2 separate regions of the Homo sapiens genome follow, and region 2 is linked to region 1. The links are contacts of gene promoters, found by promoter capture Hi-C in human tissues and cell types (Jung and others, 2019). All regions are on one chromosome and are shown on one strand. Each heading gives the region's core, a stretch centred on a gene start or on the middle of the fragment in contact. The rest is flanking DNA. Distances are from core to core; before and after follow the strand shown.

Region 1 (3,608 bases), core at 640-3,139:
ACCTCTGCCTCCCGGGTTCAAGCGATTCTCCTGCCTCAGCCTCCCGAGTATCCGGGATTACAGGTACCTGCCACCACTCCTGGCTAATTTTTGTATTTTTAGTAGAGACGGGGTTTCACCATGTTGGCCAGGCTGGTCTTGAACTACTGACCTTGTGATCCGCCCGCCTCAGCCTCCCAAAGTGCTGGGATTACAGGCAGGAGCCACCGCACCTGGCCCACTCTTAAAAATTATTAAGGACTCCCTCAGAGAACTTTTGTTTATGTGAGTTATACCCACCTATATTTACCATATTGGAAATTAAAAATAACTTTAAAGACCCCGGGCTATGTGTGTTTTGTTTGGAGTATATGAAGAAACTCTGGCCTCATATGTAGATAATGTAGTTGGAAAAGAGATGGATATTTTAATAGAGTTTTTCAGACAATTGTGGATATTCTTCTTGGATAATATACCAAAACTTGACAAGCTGGAGTTTCTCAAAGCTTAGCTGCAATGTACTATCTGAAATCCTATTAACTTTTCATACTGTTACATTAAAAATCCATTAGTCCACCTTGTCCTTGAATGGATCTTTTGCCTGTGCATGATTATGTAGCATGAGACATTGGTCTTTTGGAAAATACTGGACCACTGAGTTAAGCAGATCTTTGAGATATTGACACTTTCCATTATACAAGATTTGTTAAAATTGCGCTCATTAATATCATCACTGATCTCATCAGAAAAAAAAACATTAAGTACTGAGATGTCAAGCTCATGGCAGTAGATACACATTTTCTAAACTTTTAATTCTGGCTTGAAGGCTTAAAAATTATCATTGGCAGCAGTAATTGTCCCTTGTTTTCCTGAAAGTGACAGGCACACTTTATTTATTTTCAGAAAAATGTCTGTCAAGTACCTGTTTGAATAATCATAGTTTGCCCATCTTTCTTTCAAGTAAAAATGTTTTATGAAAATAAAAATAAAAACATGAATTCGGCCTACAACTCAAGCACAGAAGTATTTTCCTAGAGACAAATATGACACACTTCATTTTGCAGCAGACGTGCTTTATGCCTATTTCCTATTTTTTCATGCAGAATGTTAAAAAGAATTGTACCCAAGGATTAAGCTTCAATGAAATTAATAATTCTTACTGCTTATCAAGAACACCATCAGGTGACACTGGCTCTCTACCTTCTTCTTTTTTTTTTTTTCTTTTGTAACTGAGAGTGCAGATTAGTGACGCGTACTTTGACTAGCAATACAGTTTGGTGCCCCTGCCTTGATTGGGTTAAACCACCGGCGCTTTTAACCACCATTGTCTGCAAAACGTCACCACAGTGAACAAGTCAAATAAGTAAGTCTCAGCATTGTCATAAAAGGTTTTGTTTTTTTTTTGACCTTGCAGATCCCCTGAAAGGGTCTCAGAAACTCCCAAAGGGTTCCAGGACCACACCACACTTTGAGAACCACTGGGTGTTAGCGCATTCAGAAATCAATTCAGTTCTCTTTCTCTTCAGAGTTCTTGATGCTCGAGGCTTATTTATTGTGATAGATTTGATCACTGAAGCGCCAAAGAAAAGATATGCCAAGGGGTCGAACACATCCAAGAAGGAAATCCTACCGCACACACAGCTCAAAGGCTCGAGCGCGTAGAAAAACAGCTCTTGGAGAAAGAAACGGGATGCAGAGGGCAGGCCTGGGCTTGTCGTTGCCAGTGGCAACGATCCTCAGTGGGCGGGGCGCGGCCATCGATTAGTGAGGCCTTGCGTCTGTCGGCGGGCAGGAGGGTGGGGGTGACTGGAGCCGGAAGGCCTCCCGGGCCGTGTGGTCGCCGTGGGTTCTCGGTTGCGAGGCAGCTCGCTCGTTCTGCGATCTATTGAGAGTGGCTTCCAAGAGCCCCGTGCCTATGTCTGGGAGGGAGGGAAGATGGCAGCCGTGGCGGCAGGCGGCCTGGTGGGAAAGGGGCGCGACATCAGCCTAGCGGCCCTGCAGCGCCACGACCCCTATATCAACCGCATCGTGGACGTGGCCAGCCAGGTGGCTCTGTACACCTTCGGCCATCGGGCCAACGAGTGGGTGCGTGCGGACGCGGCGGAGCAGTGCAGCCCAGGGTTGGGGTGGAGGCGGGGGGCGTCAGACTCAGGACTTGAGGACCCGGTGAGGGGGAGGAGACGTTGACGCCCTGGAAGTGGGTGGATCTGGGGACTGAGGCCGAAGTTGTGGAGATGGGGTCTCGGGGGTTTGGGGGAAGGAAGGCGGATCTGTGGAGCTACCTGGAGTTGGGGAAAAGACTTAAATCTCTAACGTACCCAACGCTGGGAGACCAGACCGATCGGGTACGGCACCATAAGAGCCGAAGGAAAGGAAGGACCTGATACCTTATGGCCGGAAGACCGATGTGCTCGAGAAAGTAGAGCAGAGTTCTGTTACAGTGAATCTGTGGCTATGGGGGAGGCAGGGACAGCAGACGAATAAAAGTGCAGAGTTCTGATTTTGGAATGTCAGTCTTAGATGGGGCAAAGAGAAATCAAAACTTGATAGAAGGGGAGAAATCTGCAAGTTGTAAACTTAAGGGGAAACACCAAGAAAAGAGCCAACCTCGTCAAATAAAAGACAAAATGGGGCAGGGTCTAACACTTAGAAGGAAGCTGATGCTCTTGGGAAGATTATTACACGGCAGCACACCAAGTTCGATATTGGAGGTCATTTGGGAGCCAAATTATTTTAGTGCTCTTCTCAAAGCAGAGTCCCAGTAAATGGTAATGGAATGAAATTTCATTTTCCTCATAGTTAGAATGGGGTAGAAGCCTAGAACACTGGAATCCTGTTGCAGGGATTGCTGCTTGTAATTTTGTAACCCACCCACTCGAATGTAGAGACATGTAATTTTGTTTCTTTACTCATAATGAGTTTTGTCCAAATAATATTCATCATCCATTATGTATCACATACATGATATCCATCATTTTAAAATAAGTTACAAAACAGTATGGAGAACTTAGCCTTGATGAATGGATTTCAGATAAACTTTTTGTGTTCTTCAAGTCGGTTGTATAAACATCAAAACTTAATCTAGGAAAACATCCATGTTGAACAACTCTGTATTTTTTTTAACACCCACATTCATAAGCCTACTTATCTGCAGTATAGTTCAGCAGCCTGTAGTAAAAAACTCACCTGAAAATCATTAACATAAAAATAAAAAGACAAGCAAGAATGGGGTAGACAAACAGTTTTGCCCAAAGTTCTTAACGGAGGAAATTTGCCGGAATGGGGCAAAGAATTTAGGTCTGCTCTCCTAGTAGCCAAACACAAAAGGAGAACAGGAAGAGCTCTTTAATATTCGTTCTTCTGTAATAGAAAGTGTACCTCTTGATCAGGAGAAAGAGGTTATTTCCCCCTAGTTTCCAGGGGAATTTGTCACCTACTTTTTTTGTTTGTTTTTGTTTGTTTGTTTTTTCGAGGTGTCACCTTCGTTTTTACATAAAGAACATTGAGCAACATAGACAGTTTCCTCCATGGTAATTAAAAATATATAAAAAGATATTCTACATATGGCTATTTTGCTGCTCTGTAGAAAAATGCTAAAGGTATAATGTTATAATCCTGTAAAAGTAATT
Region 2 (3,608 bases), core at 386-2,885, 350 kb before region 1:
CACCCATTGCTGACAGGGCAACTGAGGAAACCAGACCACCTCCAGGGCCAGGAAGTGGCCTTGGGGACCGCTGCCTTGTTTATTCCAGGCCGCTTCAGCAGAGGCCAGGTGAAGGGAGATGGTTTTGCTTCAGCCAATGGCCATCGGAGGCTGGGGTGGGGGCTGCTCTCTGAGCACTGGGCAAGGCAGAATTAGAACAGCAGATCAACCCAGGCGATTTCGGCCACCTTCGCCCCAGGGGACATTTGGCAGTATCTGGAGACATTTTTGGTCATCACAGCTGGGGGTACGGCGTGACTGCTACTGGTACCCAGTGGGTAGAGGCCAGGGATACTGCTAAACATCCTACCATGCACAGGCCAGCCCCAGACAAGAAAGAATTATCCATCCCCAAATGTCAATAGGGCCAAGGCCAAGAAACTTCCATTAGAGTATCTGAAACAGTTCACTCAGAAATTGCCTTCAGAAGGGGCCCGAGGGAACAGACCAGAGGGCCTGGCTAGGGCCAGTGGCTGGAGCTGCTCCAGGGCAGCCTTCGGCTTGAGTTTATGAACAAGAACTTTCTATCAACTAGATGGACATCCAAGGGCTTCTCCATCATCCTTGCTTGATTCGACAGGTCCTGCCAAGAAGGCTACAAAGGACTCCTGAGTCAGGTGGAAGAATAAACAGGGTGACCTCCAGGGTCCTTCCAACCTGAAGACTCTGGTGTCCTGCGACATGGGGAGGTGCCTGCGAAAGGGGGCAGAGCTCAGCAATTGTCCAGGGGAAAGGGCTTGGAAAAAAGAGGACTCCATTCAGGCCAATGGCAGCTGAGCCGCCGAGCCTGAAGACAGCCTCTGCTGCCCATATGAGGGGGTGACCAGCCATTCATCATCCAGGCATTCGGGCTCTTCAGTTCATGGGCATCAATGGCCCCGCAGCCCAGCACACTTCCTCTTCTGTTTGCCATCATTGTGGACACATTCAGGCCCCATTGCCCCCTTGATCTTTCTCTTTCTGCTACTTAAAAGGCTTAGAGATGAAAGAGACAGATTCTGGAGCCAGACTGTCTGGCTGAAATCAAAGCAACATCACTATTTGTGTGTGCTTGGGCAAGTTATATGACTGTTTACTACCTCAACTTCCTCATCTGTAAAATGGGAGAGTCACAGTCTCCTACCTAACAAGGCTGCTAGGAAGTAAAGGCTTCAGCAGCATCTGGCCCATGACCACCCCTCACTCAGTGTTGATAATCACTCATCTCATCACAACCCACCCCTGGGGAAGGTCCAGTCAGGGACTCCTCTCTGCTTTGGATCTTCACCTGATGGAGGTGAGGTGGGGTCTCTGGTCTCACACTAGTGTTGTGAGAGAAGGCACGAACAGCAAGAAGGAATTCCTTATAGGCCCCCCAAAAGGAGGTTACTAGAAGATCACCTTCTCACTAGACAGTGAACAAACATGACTCCTAAGAGGGGTGTCATAGCCAAAAACCCAAAAAGGAATTCTGAAACCTTTCGTGAATGCTGGGGCCACCCCTTTGTCCTGGCTCCATTTCTTTCTCTGACTGTCTCTGCAACCACATCTACACATACTGATCCATGGAAAACGACTCTTCTTTCCTCCCCAAGACTAAGTAAATCACAAATTTCAAAACTCCTAGTCAGATTGCAATCTTTCCTGAGCACCTAGTACATGGAGAGCCCCTTTCGGAGGGTGCTGTGTGCCAGACACTGTGCAAGGTGCGTTCCTCCCATACAACCATCCTATCCCCATTCTGCAGATGAAGAAACAGAGGCTCAGAGAACTCACGTAGCTCCAGACTCGCAAGAGCTCCTGGTTTAAAGCCAGATCCGTGGGACCACTGCAGAGCTCTTCCTACCCTCTGCAGTACCTTCCTCCTGAGTCCAGACACCACCTTTCACACCCATGGCAATGCCAAGCAGGGGCTAAAATTCCAGAGGGGAGGAGGGCAGGGGGCAGACGTGGGAGCTCTTCTCTGCTTTGCATGCTGCGCCCCTACTCAAAATGCCCCCAGGCTGGCAGAGGCAAGCATCTGCTTGTAAAATGTTTATTTCACCTGAGCCCTTCCATTTTTCTTCTTAACTTTAAAAAAAACGATGATTCCAATTGAGACAGTACTAGAGAATCTCCCTGCGAGTCTGTTGAAATTCCATACCCAGTTAGAACCCCACCCAAACTGCTCTATGTCCCAACGCTGCCAGGGGCCACTTTCCACACCAAGGTTCCACTCACACAGGACCATGGGACTTCATGCTGGCCACATCTCAGTCCTAACGGTGTTTGTATTGTATTCTACCCTTCTGACGTTTTCCAGTCCATGGGAACATGCTATTAGAGCAGACCCCTCCCGTGACCTTGGTGTAGTGCTGAATGCCATCAGTAGAGCAGGTCACCATCCTCTATTAGGCCTCAGTTTCCCCATGTTATAGATGAAGGGGCTGGATAAGATAACCCACAGTCTTTTCTGGCACCACCGTCCTTCAATTCAGTGTGTTTTGGGTGACAGCCATTTTCTTCACCATTCTGGGCTAACTGAACTCCAAAGTATCATACCAGTTAGCCAGTCGATGCCTGCCTCTAAGAGGAATTCCATTAAGGAGGACTTTAGGAATTGGGTTCACTTTGAAGGAGGCTTTTTCCTGCCGGGCTCTGAATGCTGACATGACGGGTAACATCCAACAGCCCCACCCTGTGTCTGGGAAGTCCAGCCATGAGCAAGCTTGAAGCTACTCTCCCATGCCACCCAGTTCCCGAGGAAGGAACCTTTCCCCCGAGACATTCCCAGCTCCTTCTCCAGGGCGCCCCACACTCTGGGTCCCTCTGGGAGAAATCTTAAAGTGTGGCAGCAGACGGAAGCATGAGTTTATATTCAGCATGCCAAACATTCTCTGGACGGCTTCTAAACATAACCAGGCCTTAATATAGTGTCTCTTCTTGTGCCGACGACTTGAAATCCTTGCCCACCCGGCGTATGAGCCCATTCCCTCGGGGAGACTATTTGTAGCCCTAAACCAGGTGCTGTGGCTCAGCGAGAAGACACCATACACGCCAACGGGAAAGGGGGTTCTTACATATGCCAATCACCTCCACGTTTGGATTGACTAAGTTGCTAAGAAGCCGCGTGACTCAGTCGTGGGCCGGGAGCTCTTGGGAAGTCCCCCGCACATAGGATCCAAAGGGTCTAGATCCTCAGGGCCAGCACTCAGGACGGCCTGTCCTGGCCCTGCAGTGGGGGAGGGGCTGCAGACCTGCCCCCCTTCCGGTGAGCAGAAGGCCTCAGGAGTCAGGCACAGCTGGCGCCTCGCTGCACTGCCCAGCTCCTCCGGCTGGGGCCATCCCACTGGCAGCTAGCCCCACGCTCCCACTCCTGCAGCAGGCAGGAGGGGCTCCCCTCGAGTTGAGAGTGGGCCTGCCGCACAGTCACCTCACTGCAGTTTCTAGGACAAGCTTCCTCAGGGAGACCTCACAGATTTCCCAGCTGGCACTGGCTCTCTCAGCAGGTACCAAAGACTGTTTCCAACAGTCCGGTGAGAATGGCCCCAGGGCATAATCCTCCCGCTCCTGGCCCCTCTTCTGGAATCTGGTGTGATACTCCAACAGCC

What was found. The method cuts DNA at HindIII sites, captures the fragments that hold promoters and counts their contacts. A contact is called where the count stands out against the background at its distance.
Region 2: a contact is called between a fragment that was not itself captured here and the fragment with the promoter of DCP1B in region 1, in 1 of the 25 tissues and cell types used here (aorta).

The regions. Positions count from the first base shown.
Region 1 is chr12:2,002,738-2,006,345 of GRCh38, reverse strand. DCP1B (decapping mRNA 1B) reads left to right here and starts at 1,889. Exons shown (of 9, transcript NM_152640.5): 1 at 1,889-2,064. The coding sequence starts at 1,915. It also overlaps a transcript of CACNA1C not described here. RefSeq lists enhancers at 1,614-1,843, 2,168-2,807. The HindIII fragment of the contact is 10,654 bases long and covers 801-3,608 here.
Region 2 is chr12:2,347,904-2,351,511 of GRCh38, reverse strand. All of the region lies in intron 3 of CACNA1C (calcium voltage-gated channel subunit alpha1 C), which reads right to left. Among named protein-coding and RNA genes, the nearest start is that of CACNA1C-IT3, 80 kb to the right of the region's middle. RefSeq lists enhancers at 1-167, 3,332-3,608. The HindIII fragment of the contact is 4,220 bases long and covers 1-3,608 here.